Linked DNA regions of Homo sapiens: regions 1, 3 and 4 are each linked to region 2. Evidence: promoter capture Hi-C in 16 types of primary human blood cells and fetal thymus (Javierre and others, 2016). All regions are on one chromosome and are shown on one strand. Each heading gives the region's core, a stretch centred on a gene start or on the middle of the fragment in contact. The rest is flanking DNA. Distances are from core to core; before and after follow the strand shown. Region 1 overlaps ARFGAP3 (ARF GTPase activating protein 3). Region 2 holds the start of TTLL1-AS1 (TTLL1 antisense RNA 1). Region 3 overlaps ARFGAP3 (ARF GTPase activating protein 3). Region 4 overlaps ARFGAP3 (ARF GTPase activating protein 3).

Region 1 (4,227 bases), core at 555-3,054, 240 kb after region 2:
AGCACGTCTGCATGGGAGTGCAGACACCTGCACCCCTTCCTTGTGTGCATCGTGGGGTCAAGTGGTAGGTTGTTTGTGAGGTCCCTTAACCACTGTCTCCTTTTCTCTTTGCTCCAGCCCAGGGTCTAGGAGTGTGACCTCGAAAGCACTGCCCTCAGTCTGCATCAGGCAGTCTGGTTTGGTTATTGCCATGTGTGCTTGTCAGACAGTATAGCTGTGCAGTGGCCCCAGGAGTTCCAGACCAGCCTGGACAACATAGTGGGACCCCCATCTCTACAAAAAATTTAAAAAATAAAAAAATTAGCTAGGTGCGATGGCTAATGCCTATAGTTCCAATTACTCGGAGGCTAAGGCAGGAGGATCACTTGAACCCAAAAGATTGAGGCTGCAGTCAGCTGTGATCACACCACTGTACTCCAGCCCGGGCAACAGAGGGAGTCCCTGTCTCAAACAAACAATGCCCAAACTTGTTCTTATAATCTTGGAAATACTTTTTCTCTTCATTTGTCTGCATGAAGCAGAGAAATTAATACGTGGTATTCTATTAAAAATTCTTATTTTGGGCCAGGTGTGGTGGCTCACGCCTGTAATCCCAGCACTTTGGGAGGCCGAGGCGGGCAGATCACGGGTCAGGAGATCGAGACCATCCTGGCTAACATGGTGAAACCACATCTCTACTAAAAATACAAAAAATTAGCCAGGCATGGTGGTGGGCGCCTGTAGTCCCAGCAACTCGGGAGGCTGAGGCAGGAGAATGGCGTGAACCTGGGAGGTGGAGCTTGCAGTGAGCCGAGATCGCACCACTGCACTCCAGCCTGGGCAACAGAGCAAGACTCCATCTCAAAAAAAAAAAAAAAATTCTTATTTTGGGCCAGGCGCGGTGGCTCTCGCCTGTAATCCCAGCACTTTGGGAGGCTGAGGCGGGTGGATCACAAGGTCAGGAGATTGAGACCATCCTGGCTAACACGGTGAAACCCCATCTCTACTAAAAAATACAAAAAAAAAAAAATTATCTGGGCGTGGTGGCGGGCACCTGTAGTCCCAGCTACTCCAGAGGCTGAGGCAGGAGAATGGCGTGAACCTGGGAGGCGGAGCTTGCAGTGAGCTAAGATCGCGCCACTACACTCCAGTCTGGGTGACACAGCGAGACTCTGTCTCAAAAAAAAAAAAAAATTGTTATTTTGAGGAGCCTGGGAGTTGTCCTGGAAACTTCCACCTCCCACGTCACACCATAGACCCATATGATCAGAATCTCTCCTGGGTGACTCCAGACCTGAAACGTGGCCACAACCCGCTGCTTGGTCCTCCTGCCTCCAGTCTTGGCTGCTGCTCACCCCTCTCCTCACTCTTCCCACAGGGATCTTTCAGAACACAGTCATCTGTGCTGAAAATCCTGCCCTCAGCTTGAAGCACAGCTCCCCACCCAATGCCCACCTCCAGGACCATGGTTCCCACTGGCCTTTCCAGCCTCATTTCTCGTGATTCACTGTTGTGGCTCACTCCAGCTGTGTTGAGCCTGTGGAGCCCCCAGCCCAGAATGCTCTTCTTCCCCATTCCCCCAGACAGCCCCGCAACCCGTATTTACCCTGGGGGCCTGGTTAGGCCCCCTTGCACCACTCTTGTGCCTTACACTGAGGGCAAGACCATGCGAAGACCGTCTCCCCCAGTGGACTGTCAGTTCTCATTTCTGTGCCCTTGGCGCCTGACAGCCTGGCAGAGGAAGCCCTCTGCAGGTGTTTGAGGATGAATGGGTGGAGGGGTGATGAATGACCCCAAGGAGCTTGCTGAGTCTGAGCACCTGCCCACCGGCCAACATAGGCTGGAACACGCCTCCCCCTACCTCCCATGTCCCATGGCCAGTGCCAGGCTGCAGGGGCGATGTGTTCCGCCTCCAGCACAAGCCTTAAGAGCTGTGCGCATGTTGCCATGTTTCTTTCCCTGTCATAGTAGGCAAGGAAGCTGGAATTAAGAGGTGGCCCCATGGGCTTGGACCGCAAGTGACTGTGATGCACAGAACCCCCTGCCCACCTGCACTGGGCACAGCAAACATCAGTTGTGGGTGGTTGTTAGCTCAGAGTCACCTGGCCTGTCCTGACCCATCCAGGGCATTTGCCCCAACCACAGACCACTGTGTAGCTCAGTGTCCCCTCTGTCTCAGAGAGGGGAGCAGCTGTCTTCTTCCTGGCTGCCCAAGCAGAAACCTGGGAAACATCCTTAATCCGCCTGCCTCTCAGCCTGCCTAGGCCAGTCAGTCAGTGTGCCTCTTGACACCTGCCTCCTGAGGACGCTCAGCCCGTTCCCTCCTGATCCCCACTGCCGCCTCCTCATGCTCAGGCACCGCCCCATGCACCTGGACCCCTGCAGCCACCTCCCAGCTGTCTACCTGAGTTTGCTCTGTGTCCCCTCCAGATGACACAGGTCACACTTTAGTGATGTTATCAGTTAATTGTCTGCTTTCCCCAGTAGGTGGTGAGCTGTGGAAAAGCAGGTCTGTAGCTGTGTCCTCAGTACACACTGTGGGTGTTCTGGGAAAAGATAGGGAGGAGAGATTCCCTGGGTCAAGGACGCTCTTCCTGAGCAGGTGGCTGGAACTGTCATTTCCTGGAGCTCATTGTGTAACCTGAGCACACTAGGGCTGTCTTTGACCATGGCCACCCGGCCCCTCCAGCCTGCCCAGGCAGCCCTCAGAGGAGACACAGCACCCCAGTCCCATCACTGTGTTGGAATTACACTCTGTCATTGGTGAAGGCCTACAAGATTTTAGACAGTCAGCTGGAGGTGGAGATGGGAGGACCTGCATCTGTGGTGGGCATGGGAACAGTGCTGGGGGCAAATGCAGTGTCTCTTCCAAGGGACACGTTGCAGGGTAACTTGTCAGTTCTGTTTTATTCTCAGAGAGGGACTTGACCAAGGCTTTCTGTTTTTGTTTTTGAGATGGGGTCTCGCTCTGTCACCCAGGCTGGAGTGGGGTGGCACAGTCTTGGCTCACTGCAACCTCCACCTCCCAGGTTCAAGTGATTCTCCTGCCTCAGCCTCCCAAGTAGCTAGGGTTACAGGTGTGTGCCACCATGCCCAGCTAATTTTTTGTATTTTTAGTAGAGATGGGGTTTCACCATGTTGGCCAGGCTGGTCTTGAACTCCTGACCTCAAGTGATCCTCCCACCTCAGCCTCCCAGAGTGCTGGGATTACAGGCGTGAGCCACTGCGTCTGGTGGGTTTCTGTTTTGTAAGGAGCAGGTGGTGTCATGTGGGGCTTAGGGAGTAGCTGGGCGTGGCTACTCCTGAGGACCTGCAGGGTTTGTGTTGAGCTCACTGAGCCCCTCCAGCGTCTTATTACAATTGTGACACAGAAGTTTATGAACCCCTGATTGTCAGCTCTAGGAGTGTGGTCAGACCTCCTTGATGTGTGATAACCCTGATGAACTTCACCCAGATTGGTAGCAATTATGGTGATGTTTACATCAGGGCAACCAAAACTTAAGCAACTAACACTTAACAAAACTAACAACTAACAAAACTTAGGGCCACTAACACCGGCCCTAGCAAAGAGGGTGGAAGTGTGAACTTCTGTACCTGGGAAGACTGGCAGTGGAGCTTGGCTTCTAAGTCACAGTCAGACAGCATCAGTGATGCATCTATTTGGCTCACCTCCTTGGGGGAGGTAACAAGCTTCCTCCATACCCCAAGCGAGTGGGAGGGGCAGTCGTAGTCACAGATGGCTGCTGCTTTGCTTTGTCCCTGCCAATAACCCCAGAGCAAGCAAATGGCTCTTCTCATTTGAGGATACATGAATCCCTGGGAAGGCTCTGATTGGTCAGGCCTGGGTCATGTGCCCATGCCTGTGGACAGGGTAGAAGGGAGAGGTGGTTCCTGGAGGAAGGGAGGAGTACTGTTACCAAAAGAGGGAGGAGGTGATGAGAAACAGGCCATCCGTGTTGGCCCATCTGCCTTTTGCTGGGTACTTACCTGCCAGGGCTATGTTAAGCACCTTGAGGAAATGGGCCCAGAGAGAGCAAGGAACTTCTCTAGAGGCACACAGCCTAGAAGTGACAGTGCCAGGATTTGAACTCATAGTGGTGTTAAGTCCCCCATACTACATTTTCTGTCGTGTGGATTCTCTCATGTGGATCATGGCAGGGCTGCCACTTCAGCCCGAGTCTCCATCCCACTGTTGGGCCCCTTGTGAGGCAGCAGGAGGGGAGAGATCCGGGTTCTCTGGAGCCGTTG
Region 2 (4,581 bases), core at 1,499-3,998:
GGTACCTTTTGTGTTTGACACAAATACCTACATACAACCGAGGGTCCTAGTCAGGATGGCCAGCGCAGCACACCGACGGATGTGCTTTAACTGGGGAAAGATGCTTTCCACACTCCTCAGCGCTATGGGACAAAAAACTCCGAATTAGAAATCAGAAGTCCTAGAGGTTAATCTTACCTGTGCCACAGGCCAGCTGTGGGACCCTAGGCCCTGAGCAAACCTCTAGAACCCCAGTTTCCCCCCATAGGAAGCAAGTCCTGGTGCTGCCGCCCGAGTTGGGAGGATAATGTCAGTCACCGTGGAGGGGGGCGGCCCCATTCCCCCAGCCTGCTCCCTGCCACAGCCTGCAATAGGTGCAGGCAGCAACGACCATGCTCCAGGACCCCGTGAGAGAAGGGCCCCGCCACTGTGGGAAGGACCCAGGACTTGCCCAGATGCTGTGACCACCCCGTCTGGGGAGCTGCAGCTGGCATCCAGCTCTTCCAGACACGAAAATTCAGGCTGTTTCCTACACTGCTGCCTCCTTAGCACACGCGGCCTTAGGATGCATGAACGTTAATTGGGAAACAGGCAGTTAAAGAAAATGGGGGCCAGGCACGGTGGCCCACGCCTGTCATCCCAGCACTTTGGGAGGCCGAATGGGCAGATCACCTGAGGTCAGGAGTTCGAGACCAGCCTGGCCAACATGGGGAAACCCTGTCTCTACTAAAAATACAAAAATTTGCTGGGTGTGGTGGTGGGCACCTATGATCCCAGCTACCTGAAAGGCTGAGGCAGGAGAATCGCTTGAACCAGGGAGGTGGAGGTTGTAGTGAGCCAAGATTGCGCCACTGTATACCAGCCTTGGTGATAGAGTGAAACTCCATCTCAAAAAAAAAGAAAATGGGGAGGGGTGGCGTGGGTCACACTGGCAGAGTCTCTAGCTGAGTGTGCACCGTGGGGCCTCTCTGCCCTGGCCTCCACTGACCAGTGCTCATGTACCACTCCCATCTGGAATGGAGTTAGTCCCCCCAGCCTGCAGGTGCCTTGTGTGAAGCGTTTCCAGCCAGGCAGTCTCACCTCACTTACCCTGGGCTGGTTCTGTGTCACCTCATGCATGTTGCCTTTGGAGTCATTGCCATATTTGACCTGGTGACCTGTATAAAATGTCAGCTTCCGAGGGGAGACCACTGTCCACAATAACAACAAGGTTGTACACATAGGCAGGCTGGCCTTGGGGAGCATTTGCTGGGCTGCGAGAGCCACCTGGCAGGCAGGTGGGCTGGAGCCAGGTGGGAGGTGGGCGGGAGCCAGCAGGAGTCGCGAGGGTGGGGCCCCCTCAGGCCGCTTCTCTGGGTGATGTCATATTTGCCACACAGCAGCCTGGTGGCCCTGCCTGTTGCCTTTGAAAGAGAGCCTGCCGTGATCCTGGCTGTTTCTGTCTCCAGGTATGATGAAGAATTGGCCCAGGGTGACGGGGCTGACCGGGAGCTGAGAAGCCGTCAGGGTCAGTCTCTGGGGCCCAGAGCAGGCCGATCGAGAGACTCGGGGAGAGCGGTCCTCACCACCTGGAAGTGAGTCCCACCTGGACCTTATCAAAACTACTCACTCCACCTGGGCCCCTGCTGAAGCCCTATTTTGAAATTTCCCTTTTGTAGAGCTTTTTTCCTTTCCTAAGCCCTGTAAATAAACGAAGGCACTTCTTTGGAAGGTTATGGAGTCTGTTTGACTAGTGCTAAAGGAAACAATTCATGCGGATGTATAAAACTCGCTCTTTTTTTTTTAATTTTTAACCTAAGCAGAATTTTCATATTAAAAACTCACTTTTTTGACAGAAAGTAACAGCTTCAAGCATGTAATTTGATGTGTCACAAGGTTTAAACATTAAAAAAACTTTACACTAAATTAAAAACAAAACAAATCTTATAGACTCGTCCTGCCACGAGAGAGGAATGTATTTAACTGACGGCTCTTTTAGTTGCGTTTCTTTTTACTTGACTGCGATTTTTTTTTTTTTTCCCGAGACAGAGTTTTGCTCTGTCGCCCAGGCTGGAGTGCACTGGCACAATCTTGGCTCACTGCAACCTCTGCCTCCTGGGTAGTATTTCTCCCACCTCAGGCTCCCAAGTAGCTGGGATTACAGGCGTGTGCCACCACACCTGGCTAATTTTTGTATTTTTAGTAGAGATGGGGTTTTGACCATGTTGGGCAGGCTGGTCTCAAACTCCTGACCTCAGGTGATCTGCCCACCTCGGCCTCCCAAAATGCTGGGATTACAGAGGTGAGCCACCACGCCCAGCTTACTTGACTGTGATTTTGAAGAAAACAGGCAACTAGAAATATTCCTCGGTAATTTATCTTTACAAAGGCCTTTGTCTAGGTGCTCCCAGGAAGACCTGTTTTCTTTTCTTTTCTTCTCTTTTCTTTTTTTTTTTCTTTTCAGACAGGATCTCGCCCTGTCACCCAGGCTGGAGTGCCGTGGTGCCATTGTGGCTCAACTTCCTGGGCTCAAGTGATCCGCTCACCTCAGCCTCCCGAGTAACTGGGACCACACAGGCACACACCACCACCCCCAGCTACTTTTTAAAGTTTTTTTTGTAGAGACAGAGTTTCACCATGTTGGCCAGGCTGTTCTCGAACTCCTGGGCTCAAGCGATACTCCTGCCTAAGCTTCCCAAAGTGTTGGGATTACAGGCATGAGCCACCACGCCTGGCTTCAAAAAGACCTGTTTCTACCACTTCGGTTTTGTGGATGAGTCTGTTGTAAATGGAACTAGATGAGCACAGACAGGTCCGGCTGTGTGCCTTTTATGACGTCAGCAGCTGGGTTTGCTACAGGGAAGCGCCGTGGGCAGCCAGGAGCTGTGGGAGGAGCGATGGCTGCGGGACAGGCTGCGCGAGCGTGGTTGTTCCCATGCAGTCTCCCGGTAGCCCGGTGACTTACAGGAGTGTATGGAGAGGACCTGAGTTGGTGGGTAGATGGACAGATGCATTTGAGTAATAACTCATGAGTTACAGTGCTGTTCTTAGGAAGGGTCTTTTTTTTTTTTTTTTTTTTTGAGGTGGAGTTTCACTCTTGACACCCAGGCTGGAGTGCAATGGCACAATCTAGGCTCACTGCAACCTCCACCTCCTGGGTTCAGGCGATTCTCATGGCTCAGCCTCCCAAAGAGGTGGGCTTACAGGCGCCTGCCACCACGCCCAACTAATTTTTGTATTTTTAGTGGAGACGGGGTTTCACCATGTTGGCCAGGCTGGTCTCGAACTCCTGACCTCAGGTGATCCTCCCGCCTCCGCCTCCCAAAGTGCTGAAATTACAGGCGTGAGCCACTGCGCCCGGCCAGGAAGGGCCTTTTACTCATGGTCGTATTAACACGTATTTGCTGAAGTTTCACTCGCTGTCTTGAGTTTATCTTTAAAGCTTGCCACCTGTTTTTGTTGCAATGCTAGTAACAGGAGTTTGTTCTCCCAAATGGCACCAAGGGTATGTCCTTCAGATAAGGGTCTTAACTGACTTGCCCAGGCTCTCTCAGTGCCCATGCATGGACGTGTGTCAAGTGTACATGCCATATTGTGTGTGTGTATATGAGTACATATATTTAATGATGTTTCACTGCCAATTAGGGAAAAATAGGTCTTTTCAACACAAATGGTACTTGGCTGGACTCCAAATAAACTACAATTGGTGGGCTTTTCAGCCATTCCTTCTTCGTGATCTTATTGGTATGTGTGTTGTGTGTGTTCCCTGGTGTTTAAGTTTTGTTTTGTTTTGTTTTGTTTTTGAGACAGAGTCTCGCTCTGTCGCCCAGCAGGCTGGAGTGCAGTGGCGCAACCTCAGCTCACTGCAATCTCTGCCTCCCGGGTTGAAGTGATTCTCGTGCCTCAGCTTCCCAAGTAGCTGGGATTACAGGTGTACACCACCATGCCCGGCTAATTTTTGTATTTTTAGTAGAGATGGGGCTTCACCATGTTGGCTAGGCTGGTCTCAAACTCCCAGCCTTAGGTGATCCGCCTGCCTCAGCCTTCCAGAGTGCTGGGAATACAGGTGTGAGCCACTGCGCCCAGCCGTGGGGTTTAGTTTTAATGTGTTTGCTGTTGATGGCGGGTGTGGGATGGAGATCCCCGAGTCAGACTTGGCCTTGTGGCCTGGCTCTGCTGTTTATTAGCTGTTTCCCAAGCCTGTCCCTGGGGTCGTTGCACCTTTGTTTCCCACTGTATAAAATGGGGAGTTCTGTGGCCGGGCGCAGTGGCTCATGCCTGTAATCCCAGCACTTTGGGAGGCCGAGGAGGGTGGATCATCTGAGGTCAGGAGTTCGAGACCAGCTTGGCCAACATGGTGAAACCTCATCTCTACTAAAAATACAAAAATTAGCCTGGAGGCTGAGGCAGGAGAATCGCTTGAACCCAGGAGGCGGAGGTTGCGGAGAGCCGAGATGGCGCCATTACACTCAAGCCTGGGCAATAAGAGCGAAACTCCGTCTCAAAAAAAAAAAGGGGGGGAGTTCTGTTTGCCTCAGAAACAACCAGTACCACCGCACAGGGACCCTGCCCGCACGCCTTGCTGGCTCTGGCGAGCCCTCTTACCTCCCAGGAGGGGGTGTC
Region 3 (4,846 bases), core at 699-3,198, 200 kb after region 2:
GAGGTTTTGATAATGGAGACAAGGCCGGGCATGGTGGCTTGCGCCTGTAATCCCAGCACTTGGGAGGCCGGGGTGGGAGGATAGCTTGAGCCCAGGAGTTTAAGACCAACCTGGGCAACATAGTGAGACCTCATCTCTACGACAACAAAAAAAGATAATGGAGACAAGGGAGGGAAAATTGAGGTCAGCACTCGGACCTTCAGATATAAAAGCAGGAAAAAGCGAAATGCTTTGTAGCGACTTTTTGTATGCATAGGAAAATAAAGAGAAGTAAGGGTGAAAGGAGAGGATCTGTGTCATATTGTGGAGCGCTTTAGCTGCCACACTGGGAGCTAAAAGTTCACTCCTGAGGCCCTGGAGGGGTGAGGCATGTGGGGAGGCTGACTCAGCCTGGGCAGAGCAGGAGACAGCATCAGGAAGAGGTGAGGACCGAGGCTGAGGATGCAGGAGCGGGGATGTGGTTGGGGGGTCGGGGGGAGGCAAATCTGAGCTGTCCTTTCCTGGCCTTGGGTGTGTTCCTTACCTCTGAATGTCTTGCTTTCCTTCTCTTGAAAGTGAGGGTGAGAATACTAGGACCTGCCGTACAGGGTGTTGGCAGGAGCGAGCAAGAGAGCCCCATACAGCCTGGCACATAGTGAGCCCTAGAACATGTTGATGATGACCAGGGCAGAATCTGGGCTCCTGCTCGGTGGACACTGGGGAGAACCTTTTTATGATGTTGGCGTAGAAAGGCAACGCTTTTTATGACCTTATAGAGGTAATCAAACAAGTTATAAACAAAGGGCGGCTGGGAAATTACTGAGATTGTCTATAAGTAAAACTCTAGATTAATAATGGTATGCACTTTGGGAGGCTGAGATGAGGGGATTGCTTGAGGCCAGGAGTTCGAGACTAGCCTGGCGAACATGGCAAAACCCCGTCTCTACTAAAATTACGAAAATTAGCCAGGTGTGGTTCCGCACGCCTCTAATCCCAGCTACCTCTGGAGGCTGGGGCACAAGAATTGCTTGAATCCAGAAGGCAGAGATTACCATGAGCTGAGATCGCCTCACTGCACTCTAGCCTGGGCAACAGAACGAGGCTGTGTCTCAAAAAAAAAAAGGTATGGTTCACTGGGCATGGTGGCTCACACCTGTAATCCCAACACTGAGAGGCTGAGGTGGGAGGATTGCCTGAGCCCAGGAGTTCTAGACCATCTTGGGCAACATAACAAGACCCTATCTCTATTTAAAAAAAAAAAAAAAAAAAAAAGGCCAGGCACGGTGGCTCATGCCTGTAATCACAGTACTTTGGGAGGCCAAGGTGGGTGGATCACCTAAGGTCGGGAGTTTGAGACCAACCTGACCAACATGAAGAAACCCTGTCTCTGCTAAAAATACAAAAATTAGCCGGGCGTAGTGACACCTGCCTGTTATCCCAGCTACCCAGGAGGCTGAGGCAGGAGAATCACTTGAACCCAGGAGGCAGAGGTTGCGGTGAGTCAAGATCGCACCATTGCACTCCAGCCGGGGCAACTCCGTCTCAAAAAAAAAAAAAAAAAAAAAGCCCGGCATGGTAGCTACCATCTACTTGGGAGGTTGAGACAGGAGGATTGCTTGAGCAATCCTGGTTGAGGCTGCAATGAGCTGTGATCACACCACTCCATTCCTGGGTGATGGAGTGAGACCCTGTCTCAAAAAAAAAAAAAAAAGAAATTAGTAAATATAAGGGCAGCACAAAGGAAAGTTTTGGTGGACCTAAAGCTTCTTTTCTTTTCTTTCTTCCTTGCCCATTTTGTAAAAGGTATTCTGCCTATACTCATTCTAAAATATCCACATTCCTTTACAGTTAGTGTAGGGCAAGCTATTACTGAATAACAACCTCTGCTTTTTGCTCATTTCTGTGGATTCAGTATAAAGATTCTAACATTGTTGCTTTACCGTCGACCCCTTGGGGAATGTGCATTGTTGAGGCTATACTCACTGCCTTTACTTGTTTCAGATTTGATCTTACAGTGGAGAGAAGTTAGGCATAAGGTGTGGAAGGGGCAGGAAGTGCTTGTAGCTTTCACTTCAGGAGCATGAAATCTTGTGTTTTTTCCTCTCTCTGCTGGTCGTGATGTTGGGTAGGTCTCTTCTACCTTGTGATAAGAGAATGAGCATCCTCCAAGCTTCTGGTAGCGATCAAACTGGACAAGTAGATCACCGACCTGAAAACATCCAAACAGTGCATCTGTTTCAAGTAGAGACACATTACCAAATTTCAAATCATATCCAACCAAGGATGGGAGGCAAAGAGTTGGTGTCGTTCCAGCAGCCCGCTGACACTTGTCATGTCCCTGTGCCCTGCATTCCAGGAAGGACGAGAGGAGCCAGGGGTTGCTCACGCCAACCATCATCCACTCTGGAGTCCTAGCATCCCAAAAGTGTGGGTCCTTGTTGACACAAACTTAGAATTCTTTAGGATCCTAAAGCCTAAGGAAACCTTGTTCTCAAAAGCTCACTGATTTTGCTCCTGGGGATAAAAAATATTAACAGTTAGTAATATTCTTTCCATTTAGATCTACAGAGTTGGATTCCAACTGGTCATGGTTTCAGTTGCGATGCATGCAAGTCGGAGGAAACGCTAGTGCAGTAAGTTCATCTCAAACTCGTCATTTTCCTTCTTGTTTAAATATTTGTTATGCTATAATAGTAAAGAAGCTCAGGCTAGGTGCAGTGGCTCATGCCTGTAATCTCAGCCATTTGGGAGGCTGAAATTACAGGCGTTTGGGAGGATCACTGGAGCCCAGGAGTTCAAGACCACCCTGGGCAACATGGCAAGACCCTCTGTTTATAAAAAACAAACAAGTCAGGTGTGGTGTCTCACGCCTGTAATCCCAACACTTTGGGAGGCTGAGGCGGGCGGATCACTTGAGGTCAAGAGTTCGAGACCAGCCTGGCCAACATGGTGGAACCCCATCTCTACTAAAAAAAAAATAATAATAACAAAAATTAGCTGGGTATGGTGGTGCACACCTGTAATCCCAGCTACTCGGGAGGCTGAGGCGGGAGAGTTGCATGAACCTGGGAGGCAGAGGTTGCAGTGAGCCGAGATCACACCACTGCACTCCAGCCTGGGTGACAGAGCGAGACTCCATCCCAAAAAAACAAACAAACAAACAAAAAGAGTTCAATACTTGAAAGTTTGGGAGGCCCTATGAGAAGAAGCAGAGAGCCTGATGGGTTTTGGAGTTGGACAGACCCAGTTGACTTGTTTATTCAAAAATCTGTTAAACACCTAATAAACAGGAAGCGTTGGCTAGCTGCTGGGGATATAGTGACAGACAAGACAAACAAGATCCCCAGCTGGGCACGGTGGCTCATGCTTGTAATCCTAGAACTTTGGGAGGCTGAGGCAGGCAGATCGCCTTGAGCCCATGAATGTAAGACTGACCTGGACAACATGACAAAACTCCGTTTCTGCAAAAAATGCAAAAATTAGCAAATCATGGTGGTGCATACCTGTAGTCCCAGCTACTCGGGAGGCTGAGGTGGGAGGATCTCTTGAGCCTGGGAGGTAGAGGTTGCAGTGAGCTGAGATCGCACCATTGTGCTCCAGCCTGGTTGATAGAGTGAGATCAGTGATAGATAGAGTGAGTTGATAGATTATCAAAATAATAAATTAAAATAACCAATATCCCCTCTTATAGGGGATATTTTATTATAAATAAAAATAATCAAGATCCCCTCTTATAGACAGGGGCAGTCAGAGAGTAATCAAAGAAATATGTTCACAGGAAAATAACAGGCAGTGATAAGTGCTTTAAGAAAATTAAAACAGGAAGTGAGGGTACAGAGAAACTGGAGGCTTCTTTATGATAATAGTTTTTTAATAACTGGGGTGACTTTTGTGGTTAGGATGGAATGCTTGTATTTAAATTAATATTTAACTTCTTAAATCTACAAATTAAAAAACCCATTCTTTTTTTTTTTTTTTTGAGACAGAGTTTGGCTCTGTTGCCCAGGCTGGAGTGCAGTGGCGCCATCTCAGCTCACTGCAACCTCCACCTCCCGGGTTCAAGAGATTCTCCTGCCTCAGCCTCCTGAGTAGCTGGGACTACAGGTGCACGTCACCATGCCTGGATTTTTTGGTATTTTTAGTAGAGACGAGGTTTCACCATGTTGGCCGAGCTGGTCTCAAACTCCTGACCTCAAGTGATCTGCCTGCCTTGGCCTCTCAAAGTGCTGGAATTACAGGCATGAGCCACAGCACCCGACCAAAAAACCCATTCTTCATGTCTTTAAATATAGCAAATATTGTGTGTTAATTTCTAAACACAAACATAAATACTGTGTGTTAAGTTCTGTGAAAAAATAACCTTAAAATATTCAATTAATTTATAATTTTAAAGAACTGATTTCCTTAACCCCATTTACAAACCTAAGTAAGGATTTTCTTTTTTTTTTTTTTTCTTTTTTTTTTTTTGAGACGGAATCTTGCTCTGTCACCCAGGCTGGAGTGCAGTGGCCCAATCTCAGCTCTCTGCAACCTCTGCCTCCCAGGTTCATGCCATTCTTCTGCCTCAGCCTCCCGAGTAGCTGGGACTACAGGCGCCCGCCACCACACCCAGCTAATTTTTTGTATTTTTAGTAGAGACGGGGTTTCACCATGTTAGCTAGGATGGTCTCGATCACCTGACCTTGTGATCCGCCCGCCTCAGCCTCCCAGAGTGCTGGGATTACAGGCATGAGCCACCGCGCCCGGCCTAATTAAGGATTTTCAAACATTTTAAACTTTATTTACAAATTCAGTATATTTGATTATCTCAAACACTGAACTGGCAGCCTTACAAATCTAGCCAGCCAAATCTTGCACAGCACTGGTA
Region 4 (4,758 bases), core at 1,609-4,108, 210 kb after region 2:
AGTGCTGGGATTACAGGCATAAGCCACCACAAGCCCAGCCTACACTTTATCTATTTTTAAAGTAATAAATAAAATAAAATTAAAATAACAAAGTATGGTTGGGCGCGGTAGCTCACGCCTGTAATACCAACACTTTGGGAGGCCAAGGTGGGAGGTCTCGAACTCCTGAGCTCACGCAGTGTGCCCAACTTGGCCTCCGAAAGTTCTGGGATTACAGGTGTGAGCCACTGTGCCAGGCTTTTAATGAAGGCTTCATAGAGTTGCTAACCAGGATCACTTTTTAGGTAAAATAGAATAAACAAGGCAGATTTCTTGGCAACTGAAAATTTAGATTTCTATCACTGATGTAATTGGTATTAGAATTTCCACATATTAGGCCGGGTTCAGTGGCTCACGCCTGTAATCCTGGCACTTCGGGAGGCCAAGGCGGGTGGACCACCTGAGGTCAGGAATTTGAGACCAGCCTGACCAACATGGAGAAACCCCATCTCTACTAAAAATACAAAATTAGCCGGGCATGGTGGCGCATGCCTGTAATCCCAGCTACTCGGGTGGCCGAGGCAGGATAATGGCTTGAACCCGGGAGGCGAAGGTTGCAGTGAGCCGAGATCGTGCCATTGCACTCCAGCTTGGGTAAGAAGAGTGAAATTCTGTCTCCAAAAGAAAAAAAAACAAAACAAAACAAGGATTTCCACATATTAACATACATTGGGTATGTATAGTCCACAGAGGTAGTAAGTATCTTTTGACAGGTCACATTAAATCACCAGATCATAAGGTAGAATTTTGAATCGTATTAGTTGAAGAGACCACTAACATTTTTATTTGATAAAGCCATTGGATTAAAAATAAACTTCTACTTTAATGGACTTTTAAGTCAAAATTCTTATAACGTTAAAATAGAATATACAGCTAAAAAGGTAGGTGATCATTGACAAAATTGGATAAGATGTAGCACTGAGCAAGTTGAATTATTATATATTCAAAAGCAAGTTAGCTGAGTATATTTTCTGCGCTAATATCAATGTTTTGAATTTTCAGGTGGACAAGAGCAAGGACCAAGTGTGGAAGGTCTTAATGTACCAACAAAGGCTACTTTAGGTAATATGCTTAAAATCCTACATTCTGATTTAAAGTGTATGACTCATTAAGAAAAAAATAAATCCTCTTGCATTTGGCCTGGGCATCTCACCTGACGGAGTAATATAATCATGACCGAATCTGTTAATAAGATTTTATTAAACAAAAGATACTATATATATATGTTTTTTATTCATCTCTCAAGCTTCCAACAAAGATGCTACATTTTAACCAGCTTGATAATATAAAATGCAGCATTGTGGCTGGGGGCAGTGGCTCACACCTGTAATCCTAACGCTTTATGAAGCCGAGGTGGTCAGATCGCTTGAGCCCAGGAGTTCGAGACCAGCTTGGGCAACACAGCGAAACCTTAGCTCTACAAAACAACAACAACAACAACAACAACAACAAAAATTACCTGAGTGTGGTGGCACACATCTGTAGTCCCAGCTACTTGGGAGACTGAGGCAGGAGGATCACTTGAGCCTGGGAGGTTGAGGCTGCAGTGAGCCATGATCACACCACTGCACTCTGCCCTGGGTGACAGAGTGATACCTTGTCTCAAAAAAAAAAAAAAGCAGCAATGTGCACATTTAGCCAATATGGCTGCTGATGGTTTTGATTCGTGGGTTTATGTTGGGCTGGCTCACCTTACGGAAATAAGCAGTGGTCAGAACATCTACACCATTCCTTTTTACTCAAGAACTCATTTTCTTCTCTTTCTGATTTTATTATAGGTGAACTTAATCTTAAATTTTTCATTATCAAGGAATTATAATTTGTAATTGTTATATATTCCATTGCATTAGTTGGAAAGCAGCTGCTTTGGTGAAAAATAACTAAACTGTTAGAAATGCTCCTGACATTTTCATCATGTTTTAGACTCGTCAGAGTTTGGGAGCAGGTTATGTGACTACTACAATACAAATCTGAAAGAAAGTAATGAAAAGGAAAACTCCCACAAGCATCTTTTTCACACTTGAAATGTAATGACGTTATTCTCTACTCACGGCTAAAGATTGTTATCTTTTGCTGTTTCTGGCTTTATGCTATCTTTTCCTATCAAAGCACATTCTTATCTTTATATGAAAAAATTAAGACTTTAATTTTGCTGGGTTTCTTAGACATAATTCTAAAGACAATATATAACCTATAAGTAAAATGTACTCAGAAAATGATTTTTAAGAAACTTTCTCTAAAAGTATTTTTGTGCAATTTAGAAAGTATTGTTATTAAAATAAGAGAATGCTTTATGTTTCTTTTTTTTTTTTTTTTGGAGACAGAGTCTCACTCTGTCACCCAGGCTGGAGTACACTGGCACGATCTCAGCTCACTGCAACCTCTGCCTCCCGGTGCCTCCTGGGTTCAAGCGATTCTCGTGCCTCAGCCTCCCAAGTAGCTGGGATTACAGGTGTGTGCCACCATGCCCAGCAAACTTTTTGTATTTTTAGTGGAGACGGGGTTTCACCATATTGTCCAGGCTGTTCTCAAACTCCTGACCTCAGGTGATCTGCCCGCCTTGGCCTCCCAAAGTGCTGGGATTACAGGCATGAGCCACCATGCCTGGCCGAGGATGCTTTATATTTATTTTGGCTAATATGATAAAATCTATATATAAGCCAAGGTGAAAAAGCACGTCACTGGCTGCTTTAGTTGTATACATAATGCCTAGCTAACTTTATTTTTATTATTGTTATTACTTTTTTGAGCTAGAGTCTCGCTTTATTGCCCATGCTGGAGTGCAGTGGGTGCAATCACAGTTCACTGCAGCCTGGCCCAAGAGATTCTCCTACCTCAGCCTCCCAAGTAGCTGGGACCACAGGCGCACGCCATCACACTGGACTAATGTTTTTTGTTTGTTTGTTTGTGGAGATGGAGTCTCCCTATGTTGTCCAGGCTGCGAACTTTATATTTTCAAATAAGTTTTATGCAGCCGTAAAAAAGAACAGTCATGTCCTTTGCAGCAACATGGCTGGAGGCCATTATCGTAAACAAACTAATGCAGAAACAAAACCAAATATCACATGTTTTCACTTATAAGTGGGGGCTAAATCTTGGGTTCATACGAACATAAAGATGGGAAGAGTAGACACTGAGGACTCCAAAAGGAGGGAGGGAGAGAGGGGAACAAGAGCTGAAACACTTCCTGTTGGATACTGTGCTCACTGTCTGGGTGATGGGATCAAGAGAAGCCCAAACCTCAGCACCACGCAATATACCCTTGTAACAAAACTGCACGTGTACTCCCTGAATCTAAAATAAAAATGGAAAATTATAATGATTTTTAAAGTTTTTGGGCTGGGCATGATAGTTCATACCTGTAATCCCAGCACTTTAGAAAGCCAAGGCAGGAGGATCACTTGAGGCCAGGAGTTCAAGACCAGACTGGGCAACATAGTGAGCTCCCCTGATGTCTACAAAAAAAAAAAAAAGAAAGAAAACCAGGCATGGTGGCATATGCCTGTAGTCCCAGCTACTAGGGAGGCTGAGACGAGAGGATCACTTGAATACAGGAGTTCAATGCTGCAGTGAGCTCTGATCACACTACTACACTCCAGCCTAGGTAATGGAGTGAGACCATCTCTAAAAAATTGTTAGATTTTTAAGTGTTTTAAAGTTTTTGAAGAGTAGCACTTGATAAAAGAGTTGTGGCATGGTGGCTCATACTCATAATTTCAGCACTTTGAGAGGCTGAGGCAGGAGCATCACTTGAGCCCAGGAGTCCAAGACCAGTCTGGGCAACATAGCAAGACACCCATCTCTAAAAAAAAAAAAAAAAAAAAAAAAAAATAGCCAGATGTGGTGGTGCGCACCTGTGATCCCAACTACTCAGGAGGCTGAAGTGGAAGGCTCCCTTGATCTGGGAGGTAATGCCACTGCACTCAGCTAAGGTGACAGAGCGAGACCCTGTCTCAAAAAAAAAAAAAAAGTTGTTGTAATATATTTTTTAAATGCTCCTGAAGAAAGTACTGAGAGGGGCAAGCTCAGGCTCTATTTCTCTTCAGTGTGCTGTTAAAAAAAAAAATACATTTTCTCTGAGTTTGGAGACTGCGTGGAAATACTGAGGACACCATTTTGACAAAGTTCTGTTAATCCAAAATATGCTTATCAACTTGAGTCTTCTGGATGAGAAACTAAAGTGGAAAATGTTATCATCTCTTAAATAATAAAGTGCAGTATCTTAGAATTTTAAAAGACACACTAAAAAAGAAAAATTATTTCTATTGGTCTTACTTTTTAATTTTTATTTTTTGGCAGAGGTATCCTCTATCATAAAAAAGAAACCAAATCAAGCTAAAAAAGGCGTGAGTATTATGTACTTTATATATAAAAATCTGGTAGTTAAGCTTTAAAACTAAAAAGCCGCTTCGTCATTTTAGTTTTATTCTTTTGAACCATCTTGTAATAAATGTAGCTTTGATATAAGGAGTCTATGTTTTGTTCAAAGAGATTAATGTCAAAGAGATTAATGTTATACTTATTGAATTTTTTCTAGAATGATTATTTAACATTTTTTCTGTCTATGACAAAATTCTGAAAAAAATTAACAAAGGTCCCCTGGGAATTTGTCTCCTGCTTGTGTAGATCAATAAGCAATGACATCTTGTGAGGCTTAGAGGGTGGTTGTCTGGTGAGTTTTCAGATACAGCGAAGCATTGCGGAGCACCAGCTCTGGAG

The links. Contacts are between HindIII fragments. The CHiCAGO score rates a contact against its expected background, and 5 or more counts as called.
Region 1: a contact is called between a fragment that was not itself captured here and the fragment with the promoter of TTLL1-AS1 in region 2, in 1 of 17 cell types (neutrophils). The highest score is 6.8, in neutrophils.
Region 3: a contact is called between a fragment that was not itself captured here and the fragment with the promoter of TTLL1-AS1 in region 2, in 3 of 17 cell types (neutrophils, endothelial precursors and M1 macrophages). The highest score is 7.9, in neutrophils.
Region 4: a fragment that was not itself captured here is called in contact with the fragment with the promoter of TTLL1-AS1 in region 2 in 1 of 17 cell types (neutrophils); the score reaches 10.6 in neutrophils.

What each region holds. Positions count from the first base shown.
Region 1 is chr22:42,799,235-42,803,461 of GRCh38, reverse strand. All of the region lies in intron 14 of ARFGAP3 (ARF GTPase activating protein 3), which reads left to right. Among named protein-coding and RNA genes, the nearest start is that of ARFGAP3, 56 kb to the left of the region's middle. RefSeq lists an enhancer at 3,625-3,919. The HindIII fragment of the contact is 3,735 bases long and covers 1-3,671 here.
Region 2 is chr22:43,036,752-43,041,332 of GRCh38, reverse strand. It overlaps TTLL1-AS1 (TTLL1 antisense RNA 1), which reads right to left and starts at 2,748. Exons shown (of 3, transcript NR_125362.1): 1 at 1,069-2,748; 2 at 32-122. TTLL1 (TTL family tubulin polyglutamylase complex subunit L1) reads left to right here. Exons shown (of 11, transcript NM_012263.5): 11 at 1,428-1,817. The coding sequence ends at 1,557. The HindIII fragment of the contact is 751 bases long and covers 2,652-3,402 here.
Region 3 is chr22:42,838,710-42,843,555 of GRCh38, reverse strand. It overlaps ARFGAP3 (ARF GTPase activating protein 3), which reads left to right. Exons shown (of 16, transcript NM_014570.5): 3 at 2,540-2,612. Among named protein-coding and RNA genes, the nearest start is that of ARFGAP3, 16 kb to the left of the region's middle. The HindIII fragment of the contact is 407 bases long and covers 1,745-2,151 here.
Region 4 is chr22:42,823,283-42,828,040 of GRCh38, reverse strand. ARFGAP3 (ARF GTPase activating protein 3) reads left to right here. Exons shown (of 16, transcript NM_014570.5): 7 at 1,042-1,101; 8 at 4,339-4,385. Among named protein-coding and RNA genes, the nearest start is that of ARFGAP3, 32 kb to the left of the region's middle. The HindIII fragment of the contact is 3,142 bases long and covers 1,288-4,429 here.